Regions from separate parts of the Homo sapiens genome. Here regions 2, 3, 4, 5, 6 and 7 are each linked to region 1. The links are contacts of gene promoters, found by promoter capture Hi-C in blood cells and fetal thymus (Javierre and others, 2016). All regions are on one chromosome and are shown on one strand. The core of a region is centred on a gene start or on the middle of the fragment in contact, and the rest is flanking DNA. Distances in the headings are between cores, read along the strand shown.

Region 1 (4,272 bases), core at 927-3,426:
TCCCGGTGCAAGTGTGCGGGGACTCGGGGCGGGTTCCCCTGCAAACACCGTACCTGGCCCGCTCGCGCTCGCTTTTCCCCTCTGCTAAATAAACCCAACAGGGACGGTGGAAGCTGCTGCTTGTCTTGCCCCGCTGCCTGACTTTGCCCGCCCAGCCACATGCTTGAAATCGACACGATTTCAGCCGGTGGATTTCCACTGCGACCTGCCTTGTTTATTTAGATAGGAAAGATGAAAGATACTGAGATAGAAAGATGGATACGAGATTGATGGGTCTCCTTTTTTTCTTTTTTTTCTTTTACTATTTTACAAGCGCATCACTCTCTTCCCACTCCTAACTGACAACCTTTTTTTTTTTCCTCGTGGCGGGGATTTTTCACCAACCCCAATCCCCCCACCTTTTTTGAAGTGGGGGAAAGAAGACAAGATCATCCCAGGAGACAGACGGAGGTGGGGAAGTGGGGGGTGGGGAGGGGGGCTTGAGCCCGGCAAACAGCCGCGCAGCTGGATTATTTTGCAAATAGCAGGAGGAGGGGAGAGAAAGGCGGCTGCGGAATCCTAGGACTGGCGCGGCCGGCACCCTGCTGGGCCGGGCGCAGGGACCGGGGACCCGGAGCCGGCGGCCGCCCCTGGCCCTACGGCTCCCCCAGCCGGAACGCACCCCGCTCTCCTCCGCCCGCGCCGTCAGCGCGGACCCACGCGCTCGCCAACTTTTCCCCACTTCCCGGCTCCCCCTCCCCCTCCGCTCCCCCAGCCCCCTCCCCCTCCTCTCCAAACCCCGCCACCAGCGCCGCCGCCGCCACACACGCCGCTCGGAGGGGCGAGCGTCCAGCCGGGCTCGGCGCGCACACACACACACTCCTCCAGCCTGCATGCCCCCTCCCCGGCCCGGAGCCGGCTCCGCAGGCCCCCGAGCCCGAGGCGCGTCCGGCTGCTCGGCGCCCCAACTCCCCGGGCTGCAAAGAAACTTTCCTATGGCCCCCGCCCCCCGCCATGCTCCAGGCCGACGCCGTAGACTCTGCCAGCCAGCGGGCGGCCCCGGCGCCTGGCCAGGCTCGGCTGTTCCGGGCTCGGTGTCCCCAGCCCCAGACGCCCGGAGCCCCATCTCCGGCCCCTCGCGCGCACTCCGCAGACACTTACGGGTGATGAGCTCCCTCTGGGACAAGTGCTGCGGGTTGCCCTGTTTGCGGCGGGACATTGCCCCGGCATCTATTCTGGCATCGCCCGGAGAGCTGCACTGATGGGGGGAGCCGGGGGAGGGGGTCCGAGCCGCCGCCGCGCCGCTGCCGCCGCTGCCGCCGCCGCCGCCGCCGCCGCACCTCCTCCTCTGCCCGGGTTGGTGTTTTTTTTCCCTTCCTCTCTTTCCCTCTCTTCCTCCTCTTCTTCTTCTTTATTTTGCTCTTTCTTCTATGCTGTTTTTTGTTTTGTTTGCAAAAAGAAAAAAAAGGGAAGAAAAGCAAGAAAAACCTCTCGATCTAAAATAAGAAAAAGAGGCAAAAAAAAAAAAAACTGCTGTTGCTTTCCGCGGACTGGCTGGTTTCTTTAAAAATATATTCTTTCGAAGGAAAAAAAATCTCTTACACTTCTTCAAACTGCTTGGCCTCTTGCACTTGCAAATGTCTTCTTGAACTTAAACTGGGTTTTGCACCGGCTCCTGACACTTTCTTTCAGGGTCTGGTAGGTGGAAAGCGCACTTCTACCAGGAGGGGAAAAAAAATGCAAACAAATAAAAAAATAAAAGAAGAAAAAGCAAAGGAAAAAAAAAAGCAAAGAAAACTTGGGGACTTGTCTCGTACCCCCTCACCCCGCCCCCTCAAAAAACCCAAAGCAATGTAAAACTGCCCCGGTTCGGTTGTTTCTGGGTTTTCTGCGGGCTGCCTGTTTTTGTTTTTGTTTTTGTTTTTTCTCGGAGACTGACCCTTCCGAGGCTCTGGGGGGACACCAGGAGAGGCTCCTTCCCAGTTCACCTGGCAGGCTGGCGCCGGCCGGAGGGGCTGCCGAGTCCCCGCGAGCGCTCCCCAGCGCTCCCCTGGCGCCGCGGGCCCGGGGGGAGCGGGGCGGAGGGGCGGCTCGCCCAGTGCGCCTGGGTCGGTGCGGGCGCAGACTGGGAGCTATAGATTGCAACGTGAAGATGGCGGAGTCCGGGTTCTCTGGGAGCTCTCGGTCTCTCTATGGCTGGGGCTGCCTCTGTACAATGGGATAAAATTCAAGTTCAAGTGCGGACGTGACGTTTAATCTGCACTAGAGACAAAAAGACCCAGAGAGTCGGAGCACTGGGGGCGACTAGCGGTGGCTTTTTAACATTGTACCCTGTAAGAGAACAAGAAAGCACACACAGAGACACACTCGCGCGCGCGCGCACACTCACACACACACACACACAGTCGCCAGTTGCGCACACCCGCAGCCCAAGCCGGACACACGTGCAAACCGCGTTTTTGTGCGCTCATCTCCCCCGAGCCCCGGCTGCGCAACAGCGGGAGGGGGTTGGGGGGGGCCACTGGGCAGCTTATTTTAAAATAAAAGAAAAATCGTCCTTATATCTCCTCCATCCTGGGAGCAGGACCCCCTGAGAAGGGGGGCGGGGTGCTGTGTGAGTGAACTAAATTGAATCAATGCAAGTCTCCACCCACCCAAAAGCTCTTTCGGACTTGGACTTTGGGGGTGGGGGCGTGGACTGTGGAAAAGGGTTGGGGTCGACATGGGAGTTGGGGGGACAGTAAGAATCGCTTCGTTTCCCTGGAAAAGTCGCTTGGTAGTTTTTACTTTTGTTTTATGGTCGCGGGCGGCGAGGGGAGGGGAGTAGATGTTGGAGTTCAACTTCCAAAAAGTGTCTCCATATAAATCCTGGTATTACAGACTCTGGGAGGGTGAGGATGACAAAATAAACGACACTAAGACAACAGAATCAAGAGCACGTGAGGGGGTGAGAAGTGTTTGAGACCTTGTTTGAGTCCCACTTGGAAAAGGATTTTCACTCAAATCTTTGTCCCCTCCCCTCACCTTACCCCGATTAACTCCTGGGGTCAAACACGACCCCACCTCCTAAACTGGGTCTATGGCAAGCGAGAGGGTAAAGGGACCGGGGCGCTCCACGTGGGAGAGGGACTTGGACTTGCCAGCCCAGGAGTAGGTGTGGCCAAATCTCCGCAGATACTCGGGTGGGTGACTCCAGGAGGCGCCCCTGACAATCACAGCAACCTGGAAGTCACACCCCGCCCCCCGCGCTCCTCGGCCCAGGGTAGGACTTGGAAATGCCTGTCAGACTGGGAAGGACGCAGCTGCCTTGTCAGCCGTTTGATCTCCAACCGGCGAGGACAAGAGGAGTTGTGGGGCCTCTCCGTGGCCCGGGGACAAGGCCAGACCACGGCCCCCGTGGACACCCCCCATTCCCCAGGCTGTGGCCAACTTTGTCAATTTGATGACCTGGCCTCCAGGGCTGGGCGCGCCACGCGGCTGGCCTCCTCTCCCTTCTCAGGGTTTCTCTGGAGGCGGCCAGGGCGGGTCGGGGCCTGGCTCCGGCTAGGCTTCGCGGGCGAGTCCAGCTGCACCCACCCCACTCCGCCCCCAGGCCTGGCTCCGGCGGCTTCACCCGGGCGCATGGCGAGGCCGTGACGCCTCAGCGCCGCCTCCCTCGGGGCCTTTTCCTCGGGGGGCACACGGGGGTTTTTGTTTTCGTCCCGAAGGTCTTGGGTGGGGCGATGGCACCAACAATTTAACAGCGCCCAGAGTCCGTGAGCGAGAACAGAAAGAGATCCCTTCCAGTCCCATACCCTAAAAAATAATAACAATAAAATGTGCCCTGGCTTGCAGTTCTGTAAACTGTGGGCTCCACGGTGGGCGGACGCGAGGCCGAGCGGATGGAGACCGGGGGCGGGGCGCGGACTTGCACCTCCTCGCCCTGGCCGGGCAGGCTGCACCCGGCTGCCCACCCCCAACACCCCACCTCCACGTGGTCCAAAGTCTAGTAGGGCCTCCCTCTTCTGCCATCCCTCTCACCGGGAAAATCTTTCCAGGAAAGTGGCTTAAAAAAAATATGCCCACACGCACCTTTAATAAACTTCTTTAAGACATTCATAAACTGGCCATCCCTACTCGCCCGGACTCTAAATTTGAAAGATCAACTCGCGCTCTCTTTCTGAGAACTAGCGATGTGAAGCCCAGAGAGGGTGAGCACTTTGCCCTAGGACACACAGCGCGTCAGGGACAGGTCTGGACCCAAAACACCGCGGCGTGCCTGCAGCCCAGCGCCGCCGGCGGTCCGGGACTCGA
Region 2 (4,272 bases), core at 592-3,091, 1.6 Mb before region 1:
AGGCCACTTGATTAAAGGGGTTGTTCCTGCTTTAAAGACCCATGACTCTGGAGTTGCGGCTTCCCTTAATGTTCCTGGAAGAGCAGACAAGACCAATTTGTGATACCTGAATCTGATTAATGTGGGAACAGTTAACATTGGGAGGAAAGTATCCCCCCACTGCTTCTTCCCTTTCCCCTCCAGGCAGCTTTTATGTTTCTGGGCTTTTATCCCATTATCCCAGCCTCATTTTATTAGTACCACCTGGAGAGGAGCCTGCGCCCCACCAGACACCGGAGCAAATGCAGAGAGTCAGCTCCCCAGGTTTTGTTAGCCTTAGTGCTCTATTTACACACTTCTGGGCCACACCTCTCCTCTCCCTGCTGTTAATCTGGGAAGAAAATCTTTGCCACTGGCCTGGATACCAGGAAAGGAAGAACTTGCTGAAGCCACTTGAAAACTGAATCCACTTTTTAGTTCTTCCTAGCCTAGTGGAATCAGACTGAGGTTTTCAAAACAACTGTATTCTGTCCAAAGAACGAGCATAAAGAAAATAGACAGAACTGAAAGGAAGGAGAGGTTTGGCTGACTTGATCCAGGTGGCTGATCCTAGTCTGCCGGTGACTCCTGATGACTCCTGGCCTTTACCTGTGCTCTACCCCATCAGACAAAAACCTGAACGCATTCCAGTCCTCAAATATGGCATTCTCTCTCTCCTTCCTGAAGCTCTTCACATGGGCCTTTTTACCTGGAAAACACTTGGTTGTACCAACTTCGACATTTCTCCAGAGGTAATATCCTCCAGGCTGTTTATCCTGACCTCTCAAGCTTCAGTGATATGTCTACATCTACCTTCCTATGATATTCAAGTATGAATCTTGACACTTGGCCTGCAGTAATGAAGTTCAGCTATGCATGCTGGTACTTTCTACTGTCTGCAGGGGAGGAGTTATGACCAGTAAATGAGAAGGTCAAACACAGGGTAACAAGGCAGTGCTAGAAGGAACCTAGGGAGCTTTGGGAGCTCAGGGAAAGGGTTATTTACCCAGGTATGGGCACCACGAAAGACTCCTCAGAGAAGAGGCTTAAAAGATGAGTAGAAAGATAAGGAGATTGGAAAAGGTCTTCTAAGAAAAGAAGACACTATGTGCAAAAGTTTAACAGTGAGAAAAAAATGGTGTGAGGTTAAGAGGATTGTATCAGTTAGCTTTTGCTGAGTAACAAGTCACCCTGATACTTAATGACGTAAAAAACAAAAACCACTTACTTGGATCACAGTTTTGCTGGTCAGCAACCTGAGATGAGCTCAGATTTGGAATGGGTAGTTCTGCTAATTTAAGCCAGACTTAGCTGATCTTGGCTGGGCCTCACTCATGCATCTGAAGACAGGTGCTAGGTTTTCTGGAAACTGGCTGCTGTCAGATGCAGTGCCTCTTATCTTCTCAACATGGCAACCAATCATCCAGCAGTTTATCTCAGGCTTTCTTATTTTCTGACTTATCAGGGTTGTAAAAGAGAAATCAGAGCCTATATGTTTTTTTTGAGGTCTGAACTCAGAATCTGTCCAGCACCAAGTTTTGCTACATTGTACTGGGCAAAGCAAGTATCCCGGATTCCAAGTAGAATATATTGGCTGTGTGCCCGTGTTTTCTGTGTGTCTTCTGCAGAGAATTCCATTCCATGCAGAACGGCCATCTTTATGCAATCTTCTTTGGGGTGTAAGCCTGGAGAAGCAATCCACAACCATATTATGAGAAGATTTATGAAGTCTACTAAAGTTTGGATTTTCCTTCAGGATAAAGGGAAAATTTGTTAAGTATTTTTAACAAGAAATGAAAGACATCAAGATGTACACAATTTGGAAGTTGCTCCCTGGGTACTCTTCTGTTGGTGTGAAAAAGACTACTACTTGCCTAAGTAGACCCAGAGAACTCATCTGCCTCTGGATTCCCAGGGCTGCAATTCACCAACCCTTGGTCTAAACAGAGTTAGTAGGCATGTGAAGAATTTATTAAGCACCAGCATGAAGGTAGGCATAGAGATCCATAGAACTGAGATGAAAATCCAGAAATGGACCCTTGCATTTGTGGTCAATTGATTATTGGCATCAAGACCAGCCAATGGGGAAAGAATACTCTTTTTAACAAACAGTGCTGGTACAATGGGCCATCTGCATGCAAAAGAATGAAGTTGGACTCAGTCACATGTTTTACACAAACATTAACTCAAAATGGAAATAAACATAAATGCAAGAGTAACACTATAAAACGCTTAGAAGAAAACATAAGCATAGTTCTTCATGACCATACACAGGGCAACAGTGCCGTCAATATGGTATGGAAAGCACAAGTGAGCAAAGAAAAAAAAGATAAACTGGTCTCATTCAAATGGAAAACTTTTGTGCCACTAAGTGAAGATTGAAAAAAGTGAAAGATTAACCCACAGAATGAGAGAAACTATTTGCTAAGAGATACTTGAAAATATTGACAAGGGTCTTACATCCACAATATATAAAGAACTCTTACAAGTCAGCAATAGAAAGGCAGACTAATACTCCAGTTTAAAAAAGTGGGCAGAATATTTAAATAGAAATTTCTCCTAAGGAGATCGATCAATAGCCAATAAGCACAGAAAAGCTGTTCAACACTACTAGTCTTTGGGAAAACGCAAATTAAGACCATAAGTATCACTTCGCACCCATTAGGATGGCTAGAATAAAAAAGACAGTAACCTCTGTTGGTAAGAGTATGCAGACATTGCTGGTGTGAATGCAAAATGTCACGGCTACTTTCGGACATAGTTTGGCAGTTCCTCAAAAAGGTAAACATAGAGTTACCAAGAGTCTGCAACTCCACTCCTAGGTATTCCCAAGAAAAGTAAAAACAAATGTCCACAGAAAAGCTTATATGAGAATGTTCATAGCAGCATTACCCATAATAGCCCCCAAATGGAAACAACACAAATAACCATTAACTAATAAATGGATATATTAAATGTTATATAGTCAACCAAGTGGAATATTATTTGGCAATAAAAAGGAATGAAATATGATATGATATGGATGAACTTTGAAAACATCACGCTAAGTAAAAGAAGCTACATATCTCATGATTCTGTTTATATGAAATGATCAGAATTGGCAAATTTATAGAGCTAGAAGGTAGATCAGTGGTGTGTAGGGCTGGGGTGAGGGTGGAGAAATGGGGGAAATGAGAATTGATGGCTAATACATTTGGGAGTACTACTTTTAGTAGGGGAAAACATTCTAAAATTAGATTGTGGCAATGATTACACAAACTTGTGAACATACTAAAAATCACTGAATTGTGTGCTTTAAATAAGATGAGTTATGTGGTAAATAAATTATATGTTAATAAATCTTTTAAAAAATTACTCATCACTAAATTAAGACATATTAGAGAAACTGTAGCAGAAGCAATGGCAATGCCTACCTAAATATAAAAGGGGTGTTGAGAAAAAGGAAAAGGAAATATTTGCAGAGGTGCCCAGGTCTCACTTAAGGACATCTGAAGGTTGATGGTGCCAGGTACATAGACCAGAAGGCTTGCCATAGATTATTTGCTGCTTCTGGGATGACTCACAGTGGCCAAAGTCTTCATATGATCCATACTGTGTGACCAGGTCTCCTGAGTAACTTTTCTTCTTAATCACGTTACAGAGAGATTCCTGGCAGATCTCGAACAGGCTGTTGTGAATCTGCACGCAGGTTGCACACTGTGCAACTTGAGTGGCTCAGTTTCATCACAGTCCTGCAAAGTCAGGCCCCTGAAGATGCAGAGCATCCAGCCTGCCCGGCCATTTGCTGTGGCCCTGGCTATGCATCCATCTGCAGGCCAGTAACTTTGTTGATGTCTAACTGATTTTCAGAGGTTGCTCCTAAGAGGGATTTCTCTCAGGTCTCAAAAAGAGAAAAAAAGTATCTGCTTTTCCTGATTTAGTCTGTTCTTAGCTGGTAAACTCTTAGAGTATTTAACTGATTATGATTGTTTGGGCCCCTGAGAAGGCCACAAGTTAAATTTGCAGTTTTCTTTTAGTAATTTTCTAAAACTTTGGACAATGTTTCTCAAACCATAGTGTAAATTGTCTGGAAATTGAAACATTAAAATATGCTGTTTGCATATCTGCCCTCAACTATGGCCATTTAGCAGGTCTAGAAACGGGCTAAGAATCTACGTTTTGGCCAGACAGCAGGTGATTCAGATACAGGGGGTAAATAGATGACAAATTTAGATACCTCCCCTCATGGTAAGCCCTTTTATCATTTAATTCTTC
Region 3 (4,272 bases), core at 1,032-3,531, 1.5 Mb before region 1:
CTCCTAACATGTTCAAGGAACTGAAATCAAATATGATTGCAGCTGAGTATGAGAAGAACATCCTAGAAGCTGAGGCAGGAGAGGTGGGCAGGGGACAGATCATAGGAGCCTTGTAGGTCGTTCAAAATATTCTTATTTCTTTCCCTATACAGCTATGGAAAACTAAGAAAAGATTTTGAAAAGATGCCTTCTAGCCCATGTTTAAATCTAGTTCACATGGCAGAACCAGCAGCCAGGACTTCTAAGAAAAACATGCCACTGTGTCTCGTGTTGCCCAGGTACCCCTGCTTTGCTGCAGACAGTATCAGCCGTTTGAACCACCCTGTGTCATTTGCAAGCCACATGCTCATGAATGATCCAGTGGAGCCTCCACGCATCTGTAAAACAGAAATAACAACACCAAAACCAGCACTACAACAAGGACAAAGGCCAACACTTTTTGGATCCTGTCTGTGATCCTGCTGTTCTAAGTGCTTTATCTCTCTCATCCCCATGAATCCCACCTAATCCACACAGCCAACCCTTAGAGAAAGTCTGAGGTGCTGGGCACTGCTCTAAAAGTGGTGCAAGTATTGACTCATCTCATTCTCACAGCAACCCTAGGAGTTAGTCATGACGGCTACCTGTGTTCCACAGATTCGGAAACTGAGCTCGAGACAGGGTCAGTGTTCTGCCAAGGTCTCAGTGTGCAAAGCTGAGATTTGGCTCAGAGAAATCTGGCTCAGTGGTCAACGTCCTTAGCAACTGGAAGCATCATCCAAGGGGTAGATGACACATCACTCTTGTAAGGAATGTGATAATGTGACACACACAGGTCATATGGCTGGTACATGGTGGGGTGGGGGCGCTGAGATTTAAACTCAGGGAGGTTGAAGGCAGACCAGGCTTTTAATCACCACTGTATACATCACATTGATCATCAACATTTGAAAAATACTTTAGGCATTCGAGCATACAGGGCTGAATGTTCGCGTACATGAGTCATGCATGTGTGCATATGAAATATGTATTCATTTTTTACTTATCTGTTTTCTTTGAGGCCCATGGAAGAACTCGCTAGTGGAAACTGTCAACATTGACTAGCTATCATGAGCCAGGACTGATGGGATGACGTGAGCAGAGGACACCATTATTTTGTGCTTCATCAAAGTTGCAAGCTTAATAAGTGACAAAGTGGGGTCCAAAACCCAATTGTAAGTCCACTACCCTATTAGATTTCTCATGGGGGCAGAGGAGAAAAGATTGCATATTTGCATATCAGGGCAGCTTCATTGCTTTGCACATTTGATTTTAATATTTGTAATAAACATCCTCTGATGATCTACATCTCCAGATTTGAGAAGCCTAAGGATGAGACAGTGATAGACAATCAGTCCAGCCACCAGCATCCCGTTGGTACAGTTAAGTCTAAGGAGGGGCAGGTGCACAGCTGGGAGGCTCCAGCCAGCCTAAACACACAGACTGAGACAGGACTTGGGGGCATGGAGGCCAGACCGTGAACTCAGGGCAGCGTGACCTTTTGGGTGTCACTAATTCACCACCTTGGCTTGCACAACAGTCCATTGGTCTTGCATCAAAACCTCAAAACCTCCGTCCTCTCTCGCATACCCACTTACATGTTGGCAAAGGTTGGAATGTCTGCCGAGAAACCTGGTGGATAGCCTCCCTTTTCCACACTCACAGAAGGAGCTTTGACAGTTCAGGCCTTCTTGAAAAGTTAGAAAACTGTCCTGGGTAGTGAGTATATCTATGAGAATTTGGAGGTAAAGTCTTTTTTTACAAGAATGTTAACTGAACTATAGTAGACCTCTCTTATCCGCCAGGCATGTGTTCCAAGATTCCCAGCAGATGCCTAAAACCCTGGGTAGTACCTAACCCTATTTCCATCATTTGGAACACATTTCAGTTCATAATTTCCACCCACAAATTTAATGCCTTTTTCCATCTTAACTAAGCACTTATCACGCACTGGGGCCATAACTTTTGCAGTTTAAGATATGACAGCAAAACTAGCATGAATTTCTTTTTCCTTCTTCACAATTTCACAGATAGAAGATTTATTCTTACAATAGATCTTAGCAACCTCAACATATAATTTTTTTTTTCCTTAAAAGTCAAGAACTTTCACCTTTTACTTAAAGGAAGCATTTTACAGGCTGGGCACGGTGGCTCACGCCTGTAATTCCAGCACTTTGGGAGGCCAAGGCAGGCGGATCACCTGAGGTCAGGAGTTCAAGACCAGCCTGGCCAACATGGTGAAACCCTGTCTCTACTAAAAATACAAAAATTAGCTGGGCGTGGTGGTGTATGCCTGCAGTCCCAGCTACTTGAGAGGCGGAGGCAAGAGTATCACTTGAATCTAGGAGGCTGAGGTCGCAATGAGCCAAGATTGTGCCATTGCACTCCAGTCTGGCTGACAAGTGTGAGACTCCAACTCAAAAAAATTAAAAAAGGAAACACTTTACAGCTTCTCTTTGGCTTATCCGAATTGCCAGCACCACTATCGTTGCTCAGAGGGGCCATTACGAAGTAAAATAAGAGTGACTTGAGCACAGACACTGCGATGTCATGACAGTCAGTATAGCGAAGACAGCCATGAAGTGACTAATGGGCAGGTAGCGTAGACAGCATGGAATATGGTGGAAAGTGATGATCCATGCCCCAGTGAGATGCAACAGGACAGCATGATATTTTAGCATGCTACTCAGAGCAATGCAACATTTAAAACTGATTAACTGTTTCTGGAATTTTCCATTTAATATTTTCAGGCTGTGGTGGATCGTGAGTAATTGAAACTGTGAAAATACAGATGGGGGGATTACTGTACTTACCGGGCATGACCCCAGGGATGGTGGTGCTAATTAAAACCATGCATATCTCCTGCCCTCAAGGAACTTAGGCTGAACTGGAGAGACAGATACAGGGGAGGGAGGGTTCTGAGCAACACTGCCCAGTGACAGGAGTATCCAGAAGGCAGGGACCATAAAGGATCACAGTGCAAGGGGCTTGCAAGGATCCCAGAGGATCCTGGTGGGGTGAGGTGAGCTGGTATCCCAGGTTTTGCTGAGGATGTGCTATTTTCCAGGGATGCATGGTAGAGATGCCAGGTTCAGGTCTGAGGCAGGTCTCAACAGTCGATCATATTTTGGTGGGAAAGAGAATGCAAAAGCATCATTTGGGGACTTATTCCTAACTCCTCATGGCTTCCTAGGACTGGAATGGAAAGTGCCATCCCTCAGCCAGATGGGGCTTTTGAGTGGAAGAGCGGAGGAGTGGGGAAGGGCTCTTGTCCTCCTGCTCCATCTCTTGGGCAACTCCTGGAAACCCTGAGGGAGAAAGTATCACCATGGGCCCCATGGCAAGGGTGGCCTCTGACAAATATGTTCTGCTAGTCCAAACTTCAGTCAAGCTTTTGGACCTTCTCTTAAGCCCATCTCTGTACTTCCTTGTAAAATCCAGTTTTATCAAAGAACCCTGCTAAGTCAGGTTAGCAAGAACCCATCACCCTTGATATCTGATCATCCTCAACCTCTGATCAAGTTCCTCATCTTCCATCATCCCCTGGGTGTTGCCTGATCACCCTGGCTTGTCTTTAGTGAGAATCCTGCATACATCACATTGATCATCAACATTTGAAAAACGCATGAGGCATGAGAGTCTACGGGGTGAATGGACATCTACATGAGTGGGTTGCTTTGGCCAGAATCCTCCCCGCTGACGTTTTATCTTAGTACCTCTGCATCCACTGACCCTGCCCTGCTCCTTGGCCATAAATTCTCATTGGCTCATGCTGTATTTAGAGCTGAGCCCAATCTCTGTCCCTGACTAAAAATCTCATTGCAGGGGTCCTCGTGCTTATTGTGATGGTCCTAAGCATGGGCCACCTACTGTGCTTTCACGAGTGTCATTGAATCTTTTTTTTTTTTAAACACCTCACAGTTGAAGCAGGATCACACAGGGGACTGGGTAATTTCAGATATCTGAAATTACTTCCCTCCTCAAAGGCTCAGTAAAAGCTTGAATGGGTCCACCAACTGCTAGGACACCTAGTACAGTCCTCTGACATCTAAAGCCCTCTTTTTATTTCAGTGACTCAGAATCCAGGCCCCTGGACATTTCTCCAGCCACACTGCCAGCCACAGGGCTCTCTTCTCCAGGGCTGTGGGCTGTCCTGGGGCTGTCTCACTCTCAGCTCTCAGAGACCAGCAGAGCTGCCTTTTCCTGTCCTGCTGGTTTCTGGGTCTCTTCCCTAACAAGACCCAGAGCAGTTTG
Region 4 (4,272 bases), core at 891-3,390, 1.5 Mb before region 1:
GCAATACCTCAGAAGGGCCAGGTGGGCCTTAACAGCTGTGCCATTGGCTTTTAACTGCTAGGGCCCCAGTAGGGGCTGCAGGTCTCAGGGTAAGTGGTAATTTGACTTTGGTGGATGACCACAGCCGTGAGGACCTTGTCCATGGTGCAGCGACTATCTTTACATTCAAGTTGCACATCTTTCACTGCAAAATGGCCCAGGGGCCACATGAATGGCTTTTAGCAAAAAGAAACCAGGCACATGAGAACCTCTGAAAGGGCTTGTGGCCATTGTAGGTGACCTTAGCAGATACAGTCCACATGGGACCTGCAAGCAAATGCCAGCCATGCTGGCTGCAGCAAAGGCGTGGGCACTGAGTGGTCACAGGCAGCAGTAGGTGCACCTTGACCTTGAACAATACATGTGCAGGAGACAAAGGCCTCAGCGAGGGTAGAGGCCCTCCACAGGCGTAGCAGCTCCAGGGGCAGGCATGGCTCTTCCTAAACAAGCATGATAGAAGCAAAGATTGGACTAGTAGAGATAAGGCCTTTCTGCACACATGAGGGGAAGGCTCATGTACTGCTATTTGTCTGCAGAGTGGTTGGCTACTGTGTGCCCTCCGGGAAGAGAAATGTTCAAGCTCAGGTGCAGGTCAAGGCCAGGTGTGCTCATCCAGAGCTCTACAACTAGCTGGTTTCTCTGAAATGATTAAAGGGAGGATAGAGGTTTAACTCACTACTGGGGAGAAAGAAATGGCAGAGATGCTACTCATGTCTGGGACATGCCAAGGCTGAGAAATCACGGCTCAGGCAGAGACTTAGGCATCAGTGGGCCCAAAGGTTCATAGGGTGGGTATAGAAACAGAAGGGTAGTGATGTCCTGTGCATCATTCTCCAGTGAGAGCCAACATGTGGACTGGTGACATGTGTCTCCCTGCTAAGTCATTTTATAGCAGGAGAGTGCAATCCACCACTGGGCCCCAGGACAGAAAATTCCTGTTTGCATGGGAGAATCCCACTAGACAGAGCCCACCTCAGTTGAATATAGTGGGAGGAGGAACACTGGCCAAGAGGGAAAGTGAGAATTCTGAGGTTTAGAATTCTCCAATGGAAAGGAAAGGCAGCCGACCCTTTCTGAGAATGCAGACAAGATGTCAAAATAGGTCTTCCTCTCCATGGTGGTAAGTGCACCTTGTGCAAATTAAATTGTCAAAGAAAGATTTTCCCCATTTGAATTTAAGGTGCCACCTTTTGGGATCCAGATGACTGACATGAATGAACTGCAACCCAATGGGGCAAAACCGGGAAGCTTTTCTCCACTGCCCTCTCCACAGAGTTGCTGTAGAGTCTTGGATATTAAGAGCTGGGCTTGGGAAACTTCATTTTTCTGGGATAACTAAGAGAAAGTGCCTTAGAGTTGGGGGTTGGAATGTTTTTGGCATTTTGTGGTGAGGAAAACAGTGTTAGCCTTCTCAGTCCTATGTGTCCTACTAACTCTTTCAACTCTTTAAGTAGAGAGAGGCTCCTAAGTGAATTGGCGTGGCACCAAGCCTTCCTCTCAGTCCTAAAGTAACCACACTCATTTCAGCAGAAAATGACCTAGGCTGTTGCTGCTCAAGGAATCCCAAGCCAAGGCTGAGGGGCAAATTAAATCAGGGAAGAGAATTCTGGCGCTTTCACCTAAGAATTGTGAGATTTGAACTTTGAACTTGAAAGGACCAACAATCCCACGATATCAGTCCTTAATTTCTTTGGGATCCAACTTGCAAGGGGATGTAATCTTCAAATTGTACCTTCTCAGTGGGACCTTGATAATAGGAGAGGTTTATATTCAAATTTGGGGAGGCTCAAATGTTGCCGTTTGCTCAGTGGAGTGACCTTGTGTGCTTGTTACCTTCCTGTCTTCCTGGGTCATTCATCTCCCTGTAGGGTCTGTGCTGGTTTGGCAACGCAGCTGGAGATCTTTCAGAGCAGGAAGAGAGAAATGAGTCAAGTTCAGCCTCGACAGATGAAGCCTCCTTGCTGTTAACCCACCTCAGAGCCTTCTAGTGGCAAAATCTAAACTGCACCCCAGTAGCCCCAGGGGCCCAGACAGGAGAATGGGGTTGGTATCAGGCAAGGAGCCTATGAATGTGGGACGGATCAACCAGATAGATTGCTGATCTGTTCACCTTCTTTCTGGGCACAGTGGCGTCACACACAGAATTTTCAAGCCCACTGTGTTAGGAGCATGCTAATCTGGTTTAAGTCAGGACAATGCTACTTCTCCTTTCTTACTTTTCCTTCTAGGTGAATAAAGCATCTTAGCATCCCTCTCCTGGCTTCCTTCTGCTGCTTTCCTGAATATGCATGGCAGTATGCATAGAACAAAACATTCTCCCTGCTCCAAGAAGCAGGGTCTCCCTAGCCTGCCCTCATGGACAGGTGAGCCTCAGTCCAGCAGAGCCTATGGTTGGAGGCAAAATGGGCCTCTTCCTGGAGTTCCGTTAGCAGGTCTATCTGCCTCTCACTCTGAGCTCTGCCCTCTCCCTGAACCTGGTAACAATAAGAGATATGTTGGCTTTGAACGATTTGATTTCTTGTCTCCTTTTTCCACTTGTTCTAAATCAAAGTAGGGCAAAATATTCCTGTTTGTAGAGCAGAAACCTCAGAGACCTCAGCCCCAATATCTCTTCCTACCACAGTTTTCACAGACTATTAGGATCCCGGTGCAACAGAAGTGTTGAGAGAGCCCTTCTGCAAGGAACGAGAACCCAGCCAGGGCTCCACACTCCCGGAGAAGTTCTCTGTTCAGAACCACCCACTCTGTCATCTGGGTCCTATCAGTTCATGCGGATAGCTGCTGCCATCACAAGGTGCCAGGCGCCATGTTGGGCATGTGGGTTACCTCATTGAATCTTCAAATAGATGCTGGTTTTGTCCCTCAGGAGATGGAGGCTCCGAGAGGATAGGAGACTTGTTCAAGATTACTTGGCTCCTAAAGGATGACATTGGGCTTCAATTTAAGTAGGATTTCAAAGCTTGTGGCCTTGTTTCATCAGAGGCGAGCATCTCTACTTCCTCGGGACCAGGATGGGTTGACCTGGGCTTCATGTCTGAGTCTACCACTCAGTAGCTGATTAACCCTGAGGAACACCCTGGACCTCTCCAAGGCTCAGACCTGTGAAAGGAAAGACCTTTCAACCCCCACCCTGGAGTGCACCATAGGATCAAATGCAGCTGCGAATATTGTGCAAAATTTTAAACACAAAAACTCCCCATGAGACTGAGCTGATATCTCATGGCTCTGGTGGCAAGCAAAAACACAAAGGGGAGAAGCCTCTTTTTTTCCCCCCTACTTCAGTTTTCTGTGTCAGTGCTTGTAAAATCTTTGGTGTCATGAACACCTCCTCCAAGTCTTTAGAAGTTCAACTTGCATTAGGATTTGACAAGGAAGTCCTTTGTTACTGTTTTCTTCTCTTTCAAGATTAAAAGAAAAATCTAAATATAGGACTGCCTTCTGCTTAGCATAGTGCATTTTCAGTATAAGCAGACTGACTGCTCAGTCAGACTGAACAAAGCCCCGCGCCCCGAGCTGCCTAGCACCTGAGCCACTCTGCAGCCTGCCTCGTCCGCCTTTGATGCCCACCTGTCAGTCCTGCTGCATGGTGAAGAGGCCCCAATACTGCCTTTCTAGGGCTTTGTCTTCTATCAGCTGTTTTATCTTTGCTTGGCTTCAAGCGTCTCTCTCTTTGTTCTCTGCCTTCTGTGTATCTCTAACGTGGCAGTCTTTCATTCCAGACCCCAACCTCCTCCCACAGCCTCCTGCACCAGCTTCTCAGGGCCCACAGGCAGCATCTTGTGTGGGGACCCAAAGCGGCGGTTTGAGGCCACTGTGCAGGCTCATCCATCCCAGCTCTCACTAAGAGAACCCGAGCTGTTAAGGAGCAGGCTCTGCCTCCCCTCCCACCTCCAAACCTTTGCCAAGGCTGTTGCCCTATCCTAGGCTGGATTCCCCTTTGGGCTGCTCCATGACTTGTCAAAAACATATCCTCAAAAGTTTAAGGGACTCTCAAAGCTAGCTTTTTCTCAAAGGTGTCCAGAGCGCTTCTAAACAGAATCTTCTCCCCATTGTGCTCCGCTGCATTTGTTTCATGATGCTACAACCGCATCCCTCTCTGCCATGACTTTCTTTGTGTGATAACCCATGTCCTGGCAAATATGAATTCCCAACAACAGAGACCACTCTATTGGAATTTATACCTCCAGCCCCTTCCCTCTAGCCCCAGGTGTGGGTGCCTCGTACAAGGCAGAA
Region 5 (4,272 bases), core at 927-3,426, 1.3 Mb before region 1:
GAAAGTGCCTGGAGGCGAAATTGAGCCAAGTTCAAAGGGAAGTCTAATTGGCTTTCTTGAGAACTGGTGCTCTTGAAATATTGAGTTGCTGCTATAGGCTGTCCAGAATGGCCCTCAAGAGGCGGTCTTTAAAATGCCACTGGATAGCATCACTCCCTTGCAATAAGTTGGCTTCTAGGGTCCTCCCTGAGCCTAGATCATTTATTCATTCAACAGGAAATATATATATATACATCTATATATATGTATATATATATATATAGATGTATATATATATATGTATTTTTTTTTTGAGATGGAGTCTTGCTCTGTTGCCCAGGCTGGAGTGCGGCGGTGTGATCTTGACTCCCTGCAACCTCCTTCTACCAGGTTCAAGCGATTCTTCTGCCTCAGCCTCCCGAGTAGCTGGGACTACAGGCGTGTGCCACCACACCCGGCTAATTTTTTTTTAATTTTTAGTAGAGACGGGGTTTCACCGTGTTAGCCAGGATGATCTTGATCTCCTGATCCCGTGATCCACCCACCTTGGCCTCCCAAAGTGCTGGGATTACAGGCATAAGCTACTCTGCCCAGCCCAGCAACAAATATTTTTTAAGCATTGTCTGTGTGCCAAGCACACTGTTCTTCCACGGGAGCTGTGTTCAAAACCCTTTATTCAAGAGATCAATGCTGCCTAATGCTAGAAAAGACCATTTATTCTTCCTGCCATGGCCGTGCCATCCAAAGAATCTGTCTTTGCTGAAACAGTGGCCGATCAGTCATATAATTCATTATCAAAGCCTACCAACTAATGGAATCTCCCCTTTATCCTACTCCATTGAGCTTTACTAAATTCCTCCCCCACCCCTACAAATGCCCAAAAGTTTCTTTCTTCCTTTCTCCTCTCCCTTGCTTGTGTTACTATGGTGAACATTCTGCCCTGCCAGCATCCTCATGAGGGCTAGTCTCAGGTCAGACCAGATTCCCAGGACAGGGTATAGGATGTTTATTTCATCTTCCCTTGGAAAAGTCCTAAAAGCATATCACAGAAAGCCACTAAATGCTAAGACTCACACTTCTCATTGTAATTCCAACACTTTTCTCTCATTATATAGATGCTCAGAGATCTGGAGAAAAAAAGCTTAATTAGGTTTTGTCTATATGAGTAATAAAGGTGAAGGGGTTATGGTTACAAGATGGGAAGGGCCTTGTGAGTCTATAGGATTCAACCCTCTGTCTCAGGTAGATCTACATACAAACTCCACTGAACAGGAAGGGAAGATGGTTAGTAAAACTGACTGTTACTGTTGTTGTTCTTTGAAACACCTCTAAGAAATTGAAAAATCTCTTGGGATATAGGGCCTGTGAACCCTCTTTGAAGGCATTTGTAAGACCTGTTAAAGTCAACTTCCTCCATATGATAGCTAAATGGACAATTAGTGACCAATATATGGAATTATTGTTGCTGCATTTTACCTGTTACTTGCTCCCAGTCACCACATCCAGGCTGGCCTCAACATGGCTAATAAAATTATCTTCCTGAAACACAGGCCAAATCAGTGTCACCCTTTTCCCCAACCTCGGAAGGCTTCAGTAGATTTCCACTGCACATTAAGTGAAGTACACAATAATTACCATGGTATGGAAGACCCTCAGTCATCCATCTGTATGCCTGGACAACAAAGACACATGGGCTTTGAAGCCTGGAAGACTGAGGTTCAAATTTTATTTCTGCAATTTGCTAATTATTTTGCTTTAGGACTGAGCCTCAGTTTCCTCATCTCTACACAAAATGGCAATTAGAACCTCTGTCTCCTAGTGCTGTTGTTTGGATTAAATAAAGTGAGACTTTTAAAATACTGAGGACGATGCCTAGCACAAAGCAGGCCCTCAATAAACTTTGTTACCTTAAGTGTAAACTGCACTAAAAATTATTATCTTCTCTGTCAGCTCTCTGATCTCCAAATTTATTTCCTATCATAATCTTCCTCTCATTGAGTGCTCCATTTGAGACGTTTCTCTCTCCATTCCCAGGACACACTCTGCTAAATAGAGTCTTCCCCCCAAAATCCCTGCCATGCCTACTCCCAGAAGTTTACCTTTTCCATTCTAACCTTGCTCATTCTCTCAGTATCTGCTCTTTAAGGAAGTAATTTTCTTTTTAGGTATATATTTTTTCTTGCATCTGGACTTGATTCCCATGATACTTTTTGAGAATCTAAGGTGGCACTTACAGCCTTCAGCCTATTTTTAAACATGTAGTTTACTCTACTAAATTGCAGGTTTGCAGAGGGTAAAAATTGTGTCTTTTATATCTCTCTATCACCCCAAGGCACTGATAAAGCTGCATCCGTCATGATAAAGCAGTATGATGAGATCTTTTAACAGGTCATGCTGAAGTAACAAACAATCCTCAAATCTCAGGTGCTGACTACAACAAAGGTTTCTTGTTTGCTTGCATATATGTCAATCGTGGGTCAATGGGAGCTCTCCTCCTTGTGTCTCCTTTGTACTGAGATCTGGGCTGAATATGTACAGCTCCTCTCTGGCACTTGACCTTCTTGAGGCAGAAGGAAATGAGTTCATGGCAGAATGATGCAGTGGTCCTTAGATTCTCTTCTGGGGAGTGGCGTGTGTCACATGATGTGGTCAAACTTGGTACCACTGGGATGGGGAGAGCAGATGCTTTCCTGGGATGTTGCACCACACACCCCATAGCAACAGGCAGTGGTGTAGCATCATCCAGAGAAGGGCGGCAAAATATTTGAACACATTATTGCAGTTTACCACCCTTGTACATCAGAGGCTGTCAAGGAATGCTATGAAAATCAAGTCAATTTGCATCATTTTAAATAACCTTCTGAAACCCATAGTCAATGGCAGTCAGAATATTACTAAAAACATTATTTACTTAATTAGAAAATGTGCCCTTTGTGAAGAACTACCAGTGTGATTTCCCTTAGCTCTATGTATCAGAAGTAAGTGTTCTTTTACCCATTACCTATGAAACACTGTTCGTTATTTTACTGGCTACTAGGAAGCTCCTGCCTAAATAATGGCTCCCATTGGTGAATTACACAGGAATTTATGGAAACTTTTTCAGAATTGACCTTATGCCTGGCATTATTGTATTTTACTTCTACCCTTATTCACCCAGATGTAAGTTTACCACCTGTATTTTTCATAAACTATTAAAAAATACATGGATTATAAACAAATGAGCTTATCTTAGACATACCCTTTGAGACTGTTTGAAGCTTGTCTGCCCACTGGACTTTATTGTATTCTTGCTTAATGCTTTAGCTCTGCCTTTGAGGAATAAATGAAAACACATGTGGAAGACAAATCACTCCTTGTCCTTCCAAATATGCCATGAACTGCCTGATCAAAGGGAAATGAGAAAAGCCACTTTTCAAATGGGGCCCCAGGGGTCCCTGAACCAAACCAGTCTCTCTGGGGCCAGGAAGGACAGATCCCCAAATCTGCTCCAGTTCCCCAAGGTGCCTGCTGGACCCAGCACCTTTGCCCTCATCATCAATGAGAGGAAGCATCGATGTAATCCTTTATGCTTGGTGGGACTGTGGGAAATAATATCACAGACAAACACTGGACCCCCAGGAGGGGCCTTCTTCAGATGACAGGAAGGCAGACACAATTGCAAATACCTTGTGCCTGTGTCTTCTAAGACAAAACAGTTGGACTCTTTGGACACATGGCTGATCTTCTCTCCACACATAGGGTAAGAACAATTCTATTCCTTACCCCATGGCTACCAAAGTGATGGATTCCTAATGCTGGGCTGACTGTTTCATGCATCTTTATGAGTACCACGTGGGACTTCTCACTGAGTTTACGATGAAATGTGAATCCCTAAACTCGGATTTTGGGGCCTTCAGGAGCAGCTTCCTCATTCTCCATCTCTTGTGTTTCTAATTCCCTAAATTTTACATGCTCTTCCTTAAGTCCATTCCTTTGCAGTTAACTTTAAAAAATGATGATGATAGCAAAAATAACAATAATGATACTAATAATACAGTAAGCCCTAGCTGAGCTATAGTCATCCTTTCCACTCAACTGAACACATCTTTAGAGAGTCTTCTCTTTCATCATCAGATGTGTTAGGCAACCTACTTTGTGACCTCAGCTGATGCCTCTATATATTGTAATACTGTGTTTTATCAACTTGTCTATGATTCCTTGAGGCCAACCAAAGGCGATGTTCAAGCTCTTCTTTCCATCCCTAGCCACTAGCTCAGTATCAGGTGTTTAGGAGATGCAGAATGAATGTTTGCC
Region 6 (4,272 bases), core at 1,120-3,619, 1.3 Mb before region 1:
TTCCATCTTATTTCATGAAAGGCAGTCTTTGTCAGGATGTCAGAATCAGGAGGGGAATGGACCTGGGGCAGGCATCCGGGAGTATCTGCTATGGTGGTCTAATCAGACTACCTCATCTCTAGGTCCCAGTGGAGAGCATTTGACCTCAGCCAAGTCAATCAGTGCCCTGACCTGGGGTTTCTTAATTAAAAATGGGCAAAAAAATAATAATTAAAAATGCTTTATGCTAATAGAATTGAAAAAGCTGCAAACCTAAAGCTGCCAGCCTCCAAAGTTCCAGACTTTTGGAGAAATCCAGTTTGATAAAATCGAAGCTGAAACACAGAGAGAGGTGGCATGAGAGATGGGCAGGGATTTTCCCATCTGACTCTGGGATCCAGGCTGTTGTGGTCTCTGCTCTTTGTGTTTGGTTATGCAAGCCAAGGAATTCCCCTTTTAGCTGAGGAATCATTTATAACACAAAGATAGGCATTATCACAACCCCCATGTTTTAGTTGAAGAGGAGAAGTATGTGATTTGCCCATGTCTGCAACCCTGGTAAGTAGCAGACCCATGACACAAACATAACCCTCCTACATGTAAAACCCCATGTTTTTTGCATAGCATTGCTCAGGAGTGCAGATAAAAGGTAATAATAAACGGGAGAGAAGATTTTAATGGTAGTCAGGAGATACAAATTCTAGACTGCCTCCCAGCACTCACTGGCCATAGAATTCATGCAAATCAACGTTCCCCTCTCCCCACCCACTTTTGGTGTTCTCAGTCTTAAATGGAGGTTAAATGTTTCAACTTGAAATCGCAGAAGTAGAAATGGCAGTCAGGCATGGGGTGATACTCATGTGGTATCCATTTTTTTGTTTGTGCAATTGTTTATCTCATGGCTGTATTTGACACAATCATTATAATCATTCATATTTTCCTTCTCCAACTATGTTAACCCTCCGGTGGTTTATTTTTCATTGGGGTGCCAAAACTTCTTTTATTTATTTAATTCATTTATTCACCTAGAAAGGCAATTTTTACCAGCTGCCTGGCAGGTTCTTCTAAACCCAGACTCAAACTCCACCCCTTTGTATTTTTATGGATTGCTCTTTCTGTGAATACAGGTGGGGCAATTAAACCCTGAACTTAGCATTTGGTATTTGGTTATTTACTGTGTTTGCTAATGGTTTCCCTAGTTAATTAATATAAGCTTATCATATTAGAGATTTCAACTTTCCTGAAGGAAACTAAGAACTTCTATCATGACCTCAAGCCTCTATAGAAATCCCAGATTTGTTTTAGGTTACACCAAGACAAATCAATACCAAATCAATCGTTCAGAGTCAAATAGCATTTTACTGAATTTACAGAATTTTATAGAATTCAAGTATTCCTTAAAATTCGCTGGAGACAGTCATCACCTTTCTCATTAAAAAAAAAAAAAAATTAAGAGATAGGGTCTCACTATGTTGCCCAGGATGGAGTACAGTAGCTATTCACTGGTGAGATCATAGCACATTACAGCCTCAAAGTCCTGTGTTCAAGCAATCCTCCCACCTCAGCCTCCCTAGTAGCTGGGACAATGGGCATATACCACCATACTTGGCTCCCTTCCTCATTTTAAAATAATTTAGTTCAGAAATATTAAATGGCTCACCCAAAATCCCATAGTTAGTGGTGGGACTTGTTGGGTAGGTAAATAGGTGATAGAGTCCTGACAGTGAAGACTGGAAAATTAAAAAGGGGTGCAAAAAGCTAACTGATTTTCTTCCTCCCTCCTTTCCTCCCTCCCTCCCTCTCTCCCTCCCTCCTTGCCTCCCTCCCTCCTTGCCTGCCTCCCTCCCTCCCTCCTTCCTTTCTTCCTTCCTTCCTTCCTTTCTTTCTCTTTCTTTCTTTTTCTTTCTTTCTTTTTCTTTCTTTCTTTCTTTCTTTCTTTCTTTCTTTCTTTCTTTCTTTCTTTCTTTTTCCTTCTTTCTTCTCTTTCTTTCATATGTGACAGGCATTAATTTAGGAATAACACCATAGCATTTCATCAATTTTCATTTTACAGATGAAAATCTGTAGATCAATAATCTCAGGTCCTCAGCAGAGCATGGTTTTAAACACTAGTTTTGCACCCTTGTCTGTCAGACAAAAAAAAAGCGTATTCTCTCTCTCTTTTTTTTGGTGTTTTGTTTTGTTTTGTTTTGTTTTGTTTTGTTTCATTGGAGACAGAGCCTTCAGACTAGAGTGCAGTGGCTTGATCTCAGCTCATTGAAACCTCCACATCCCAGGTTCAAGCAATTCTTGTGCCTCCAGCCTCCCAAGTAGCTGGGACTACAGGCATGTGCCACCACGCTCAGCTAATTTTTTGTGTTTTAGTAGAGACAGAGTTTCACCATGTTGCCCAGGCTGGTTTCAAACTCCTGAGACCAGGCAATCTGCTTGCCTCGGCCTCCCAAAGTGCTGGGATTACAGACATGAGCCACCCCGTGCCCGGCCCATTATGCCCTTTATTTCTAAAGAAAAGATGAATGAATTAATGTATCCATTCACTCACCTATCCATCTTCTCATCATCTCACTGCTACTAGGCTCTGAGTGGACCCTCATGATACATATGTGACCCAGTCAGGCTTCCTCTTGCTTCACTGAATTTCACATTCTTCTGGGGAAGATCCTCTTGAGGCAGACCACCTACTGTAGGCGACTCTCCTGTCCACTGAGAAGCCAGAAGCCAGGGGACAGTGCTAGGCCTCTAAGATCCAGCAATGATTTCACTAAGAGTGTGAGCCCTTCCTAGAGAGACTGGTTGGTTGCTCTAGTATTGCTCAATACCATCCTTTGTTCAAATTCCATCTTGAGGAAGCATGGCTGTGAGCAAACTTTGAATTCCCCTACAGTTGTCTAAAGCTAACATTCAAGTCCATATTCCAAGCCATCATCAAGAACTATGGCTTGCCACTGTCAAGCCATATTACCTTGGAAGATTTGCAAGTTTTCTTTGAGCCACAGGCTCTGTTTCCAATGGCACACTTTAAAGAGAAAGGTGATGCTTTGGGACTAAGGAATTAAGTGTTTTCTTCCTAGCCCTGGGGAAAGGAGGTCAGGGTGTATCCATCAGAAACTCATGGACGGTGCTTGTCTGGAAACAAAGAGAGGCAGCTGGGACTCCCTGTTTGAAGTTGGATAGAGGCCCGGTTTTGAGGGAGAGGCATTTGGAGAAAGTCTTTGGAGAAACCATATTCATGGCTGTTTTGTTGTGTGACTAATGGGGTTTGCCAATTTCACTCTCCAATGTGTAACTACCTCCACTAGACTGCCTTCAACAAATTAAAATTAAAGAGTAAACCCTTAAATACCTACTTCCAGTTGATTTGGCCTCAGCAACGTACCAGTGAAAATTGTATTTTAATTTTTGACTTTTGTTAAGAATAAATAGTCAGAGATGTTTTACCCCTTTAGGCTTCTCCATTAAAAGTCCATCTAAATGCTATCAGCTTTATTAGCTAACATGAAAATTAATTTTTTTCCCAAGGTGAGTTATCATTGTATAATTCCATTGGTTAGCATTTGCCTTAAATTCAAAGCTTCTCTTGAAAGGTTTAGCTTAGCAATACTATCTCAACAATTCTTAGGCTGGTTCTGAATTCTAATCTTGTCACTGCCACTGCTTTGTTGTATTTTCCCTAATCAAGTGTGTTCTACCATAGGATTTCATGCATTCCTAGTAATTCCTTCATTCATTCACAAATTTGCTTTTCCATTTATTTGTTTTGCAGGCATTTACTTAATCTCTCCTATGTGACCGACTCAGCTGAGACTACAGGTGCACACTACCACACCAGGAAACCTTTTTCTTTTATTTTTTTAGATGTGGCCTTGCTATGTTGTGTAGGCTGCTCTTGAACTCCTGGCCTCAAGTAATCCTCCCACCTCAGCTTCCTGTCAAGTTTCACTATTAAAGGTCATTTTTTCCATTAGAACCAATGCTTCATGAGGTTCCTATGAGATCGCATATCTGTAGTGTAACTGACAAGACCCTCATCTGCAAAAAGATGTCTTGTATATAGAGGGCCTTTTTCTATTCTTATCACTTCTGAGCTGCAGAAGGTCTCCTAAAGATCAATAGATGAATATGCAACCAATTCGGACTTTAAGGCATTTTACCTGATCTTAGACAATTGCTTTTTTTTTTTTTTTTAGAATTGAAGAAACTGAGGTCCATAGCAGGAAAGAAAAGTGACCTACCTAAGATCAGGGCCAGGGCTAGGACCAAAGCCCATGCTCTTAACTCCCAGTCCTCTCCCCA
Region 7 (4,272 bases), core at 496-2,995, 1.1 Mb before region 1:
GCTGGGACTACAGGCGTTCGCCACCATGCCTGGCTAATTTTTGTATATTTAGTAGAAATGGGTTTCACCATGTTGGCCAGGCTGGTTTAGAACTTCTGACTTCAAGTCATCTGCCCACCTCAGCTTCCCAAAGTGCTGGGATTACAGGCATGAGTCACCGTGCCCAGCCCATTTTTTTCCTAAGTTCTAACTTTTGGCTGGGTTTTGAACACGTATCAGTATTTAATGCATACAAAATACACACACGCCATATGTATTTCAAGAAAGGAAGAGAGGTAGGATAAGAAGTACTTGTTTTTACATCAGGTACTTTTACAGGTGTTGTTTCATTTGCTTTTCAAAATAATAACATTACATACGAAATAATTGCCCAGTTTCTAGGATAAGACTACTGAGTCTTTGAGAAGTTAAATGATTTTCCCCAAGTCATATAATAGCAAGTAATAAAGAGACAGCATTCAATTTCTTGTACATATATCTCAAAAATTTACGTTGAACAAGCTTGATAAACATAAACCATTAGAGACTTAGAATTATAAAGAAATATTATAATTGTATCTCATGTTCAAATGCATATAACAACCTGTTTAAGAATAAGCACCTCAACAAAAGTACGCATTTGTGATTTTCTAGATAGGTATTAGTTTGTGTTAGGAAATTCTACAAGGATCATGTTGATGCTGAGGTCACATTTTGTGTTTTCTTCAAAATTGAATTGAGCTTAAACTCTGGATTTACAAACCAATGTCTGAATTCCTGAAAGAACTCAAAGCAAGTCAAGGCCAGAATGATGTCCTCAATCTCTGTGCCATTGCAGAGCCCAAACTCAAGAGAAATGCACAAGAGATGACTTATTCATTGAACACACTTTTCTAGTTGGCCCTTTGTCCAAGCTGACTGGTGGACTGTTCATTGATAACATATTTGATGTTTCACCAAATATATTGTCAGCATTTAAACAAATGTACTCTTCATGCCATCATTCTTGACCCACACTTCCAATGTTACCTCTCTATGAATTCCCTGGCTCGGCTCTGGCTCACGCCTGTAATCCCAGCACTTTGGGAGTCCGAGATGGGTGGATTACTTGAGGTCAGGGGTTTGAAACCAGCCTGGCCAATATGGCAAAACCTTGTCTCTACTAATAGTACAAAGTTAGCCGGGCGTGGTGGTGCGTGCCTGTAATTCCAGCTACTTGGGAGGCTGAGGCAGGAGAATTGCTTGAACCTGGGAGGCGGAGGTTGCAGTGAGCCAAAATCGTGCCATTGCACTGCAGCCTGGGCAACAACAGTGAAACTGCATCTTAAAAAAAAAAAAAAAAAAAAAAAGAAAGAAATTCTCCTTGTCACCTCAGGATAGATCTAAATACTTTTCAATAGTCTTACACTTCCTGGCTTATAATATGTAACTATTGTGTTCTTATCTGTATCTGTCAGCTGTGCTGTAATGATGCTGTGTAACAGATAACTTCCAATTATTTGTTACCCCATGTTACATGCCAGCCTTAGGTAGGCTGAAGCTTTGCAGCTCTGTGCTCAAAGGCTCCCCTCCAATCTTCTAGTGGAATGAGGATCTGCTTCCTGGGTCTTCTCATACTGGGACCCAGGTTAAAGGAAGAGCCCCTGCCTGCTGAATATTGTTTGTTCATGGCAGATATCACGAATAAGGGAGTTGGCTGAAACTCTCACTGCCTCTAAAAGCTCTTACATAAATGAGGTTAATGTTACATTTTTTTAAACGTCCTGTTGGCCAAAGAAAATCATACAATCAACCTCAATGTCAAGGAAATGGGATATAAACTCTTCAGAACTGCAAAAGTGGAGAGGAAGTAAATGTTTATGTACAAAGAACAAAATTGATTTTGTTATCTACATATTATGTTTCTCCCCCACTGATCAATAAGGTAATGGGTCATAAAATAGATATCTGTCTTTCAATCTCTTATTTCTAGCATATAGTGTGTTTCCAGAGAAAGCTTATTTAATACTTGAGTATGTCTTTAGATTCACTGGTAAAGGAGTAAAGGCATTAAATGGTACTTTCTAAAATGGTTAAATTGTATCAATATTTAGCTTTTTACATTTCTCTCTCTCTTTCTCCTCACACACACACACACGCACACATCTTTTCCTTTAATAGTGCCATTTTAAAGATGAAGAAACTGACCTAAAGAAATGAAGAAAGTCTGTGTCCAAGGTAACATAGTTAACAAGTATCAGGATGATAAATCATACAGTCTTGTTGGACTGCAGATCATATAATCTAATCCATAATCTACCTACATTGTCTTCTTCTGCTTTGGCAAACTGGATGAAGCAAAAGAGCAAATGGTTTAAGCAAGAGTGTGTTAGGGGAGCTTCTTAGATGATGTGCCAGGATATTAGAGTCAAGCAAGGAAGGTCATGCCTTCCTTTTGTCTTACTATAAGAAGAGGCGAATATGAAGATACACCATGTAAGGGCATCCTTACCATAGGCATTAGCAGCAGATACTCTTGTAGGTTGAGGGATCATCTAGCAGTGCTTGCCTAACTTTCTTATATTACAGCACACATAAGAAATGGTTTTATCTGTTTGACACTGCAAGAAACAGCAGATGTGTGAGCAATCTGGAAAGAGGTGACATAGGCCTATGAGGCCACCTAAAATAACTGGAACACCCTGCTGAGGACAAGCCTACTGGAGATCGCCCCATGCTCCAGAAAGACACACACTCACTCCAGTGGGAACCAGAGGGGATGGGTAAAAAGGTTGGGATACAACCCAGTCATAGGCAAGGTGACCTAACACCTTGCATGAAATATTTCTCAGAGGTTTACTAAGCACTCACGTAAATACTGATGAATTCTTTATTCGAAATTCAACTGACGGCATAGGATTGGAATAAATTACAGTATAATAACTGGTCTTGTGAGTCATTCAATCTGAGAATGTGAAGGACTTTAAATGTCATTATTCTGATTCCGCACTTCAGGGCTTGAACACCCCTATGTGTGCATTGCCCATTTGAGTCCTCAACTGTCCTCAGCACAGCCCAGTCTTTTCAAGAGACAATTTCTTTAATTATATGGGAAACTCTAGTTCAGAATCAATAAATTTTATAATGATCACTTGTTTTTTAAGCTTGCTCAAAAGGATAGGAGACTGCAGTAGCTGATAAAAGTGTTATTACTCAGAGAATTGGTTATTAGCAGGCCAACCAGAAAGAGAAAGACAAAAAAGTGTTGTTTTCAAAAATTAGAAAATATAAGGACAAAGAACCATGGTGTTCTGGCACATTTGGTATAAGGGCACCTCAAAGTCATGATTGTTTATGTAACTAATAAGTGTTATACACAAAATAAAGTTTGAAGAATAATTAAGTGGTTTTGAATATGTATTGCAAAGTTTTCCCACCGCATTGAGATAAAACAAACACATAAAAAAAGACGATAGGAATAAATTTGCCTTCAGAGGCAGAAAGGGAAGGATTCACCCTTGTTGAAGTCCCACCTTATGCCTGAGATTATACACCTGTTATTTCCTCTAGTTAGCATAAAAAGATCTTTTAGGTCTGTTTCATCTCATTTTTACCACTGAGGAGGCTGAGATTCAAGGAAAACCCTCTTGGTTAAATTTATATTGAGAGCCTCTAATCCAAGGGCTTTCTCTTCTAACGTCCCTGCTGTGAGATGTATGGATAATATGGATAATCCTTGCATGTGGAAGTGTGTTTCCAGATGAAGTAAGAAAAGTTGAGGTTCTGGTATTAAAGATAATGTCTTGGAAGACAGGGGGTTGTCAACATTTTGCGCAAAGTCATCTGCAAAACTAAACCCAGATCCAGGGCCCTTCCCTTCCCTGCCTAGCTGGTTGCAAGTTGCAAGCTCCTTCCCCTAAGTGAATAAGAGAGGGAGGTAGAGCTTGGACTTCACATGCAGCCTGCCTGTGTGAGTGACCGACAGCAGGCTCACCCAAAGCATCAACTAAGTTTTGCTTTCTTGTATGTATAAATAACAACAGCAATGTGCCACTAGCACAGTGCCGTTTCATTTAATGGCGCAGCACTGAGCAACTTAATTAATCTTTTGGTCTCTGAAACATTCATCATAGTTTTTCAGGGGCTCTGAAAAAATGTGCTTGCCTCTTGAAGCCATTGACACAGAGACCAGTGAGGAGTGAGTTGGCTTTCCCTTAACAAATTTGCTCAGCTGTGAATCTGGGGTCTAATGCTTTTGAAAGTGGAATTTCTGTAGATGTTAGTCATGGATTTAAAAAGTAAAGACTGATTGCA

Evidence for each region. The method cuts DNA at HindIII sites, captures the fragments that hold promoters and counts their contacts. A CHiCAGO score of 5 or more calls a contact.
Region 2: a contact is called between a fragment that was not itself captured here and the fragment with the promoter of BCL11B in region 1, in 1 of 17 cell types (naive CD8 T cells). The highest score is 6.4, in naive CD8 T cells.
Region 3: a fragment that was not itself captured here is called in contact with the fragment with the promoter of BCL11B in region 1 in 1 of 17 cell types (fetal thymus); the score reaches 5.8 in fetal thymus.
Region 4: a contact is called between a fragment that was not itself captured here and the fragment with the promoter of BCL11B in region 1, in 1 of 17 cell types (fetal thymus). The highest score is 11.3, in fetal thymus.
Region 5: a contact is called between a fragment that was not itself captured here and the fragment with the promoter of BCL11B in region 1, in 7 of 17 cell types (activated CD4 T cells, total CD4 T cells, naive CD4 T cells and 4 more). The highest score is 12.1, in activated CD4 T cells.
Region 6: a contact is called between a fragment that was not itself captured here and the fragment with the promoter of BCL11B in region 1, in 1 of 17 cell types (naive CD4 T cells). The highest score is 5.4, in naive CD4 T cells.
Region 7: a fragment that was not itself captured here is called in contact with the fragment with the promoter of BCL11B in region 1 in 2 of 17 cell types (M1 macrophages and fetal thymus); the score reaches 5.8 in M1 macrophages.

What each region holds. Positions count from the first base shown.
Region 1 is chr14:99,270,021-99,274,292 of GRCh38, forward strand. BCL11B (BCL11 transcription factor B) reads right to left here and starts at 2,177. Exons shown (of 4, transcript NM_138576.4): 1 at 1,141-2,177. The coding sequence starts at 1,198. RefSeq lists a silencer at 2,024-2,103. The HindIII fragment of the contact is 13,366 bases long and covers 1-4,272 here.
Region 2 is chr14:97,698,439-97,702,710 of GRCh38, forward strand. No RefSeq gene overlaps it. Among named protein-coding and RNA genes, the nearest start is that of LINC02291, 14 kb to the left of the region's middle. The HindIII fragment of the contact is 2,073 bases long and covers 806-2,878 here.
Region 3 is chr14:97,772,890-97,777,161 of GRCh38, forward strand. It overlaps LOC105370651 (a long non-coding RNA gene), which reads left to right. Exons shown (of 5, transcript XR_944186.4): 3 at 1,040-1,193. Among named protein-coding and RNA genes, the nearest start is that of LINC02312, 12 kb to the left of the region's middle. The HindIII fragment of the contact is 2,252 bases long and covers 1,156-3,407 here.
Region 4 is chr14:97,794,718-97,798,989 of GRCh38, forward strand. LOC105370651 (a long non-coding RNA gene) reads left to right here. Exons shown (of 5, transcript XR_944186.4): 5 at 2,663-2,853. Among named protein-coding and RNA genes, the nearest start is that of LINC02312, 34 kb to the left of the region's middle. The HindIII fragment of the contact is 1,711 bases long and covers 1,286-2,996 here.
Region 5 is chr14:97,989,730-97,994,001 of GRCh38, forward strand. No RefSeq gene overlaps it. Among named protein-coding and RNA genes, the nearest start is that of LINC01550, 14 kb to the left of the region's middle. The HindIII fragment of the contact is 2,116 bases long and covers 1,119-3,234 here.
Region 6 is chr14:98,012,269-98,016,540 of GRCh38, forward strand. No RefSeq gene overlaps it. Among named protein-coding and RNA genes, the nearest start is that of LINC01550, 36 kb to the left of the region's middle. The HindIII fragment of the contact is 2,358 bases long and covers 1,191-3,548 here.
Region 7 is chr14:98,148,847-98,153,118 of GRCh38, forward strand. The region is part of intron 2 of LINC02295 (long intergenic non-protein coding RNA 2295); the gene reads left to right. The region is part of intron 1 of LOC105370655 (a long non-coding RNA gene); the gene reads right to left. Among named protein-coding and RNA genes, the nearest start is that of LINC02295, 15 kb to the left of the region's middle. The HindIII fragment of the contact is 456 bases long and covers 1,518-1,973 here.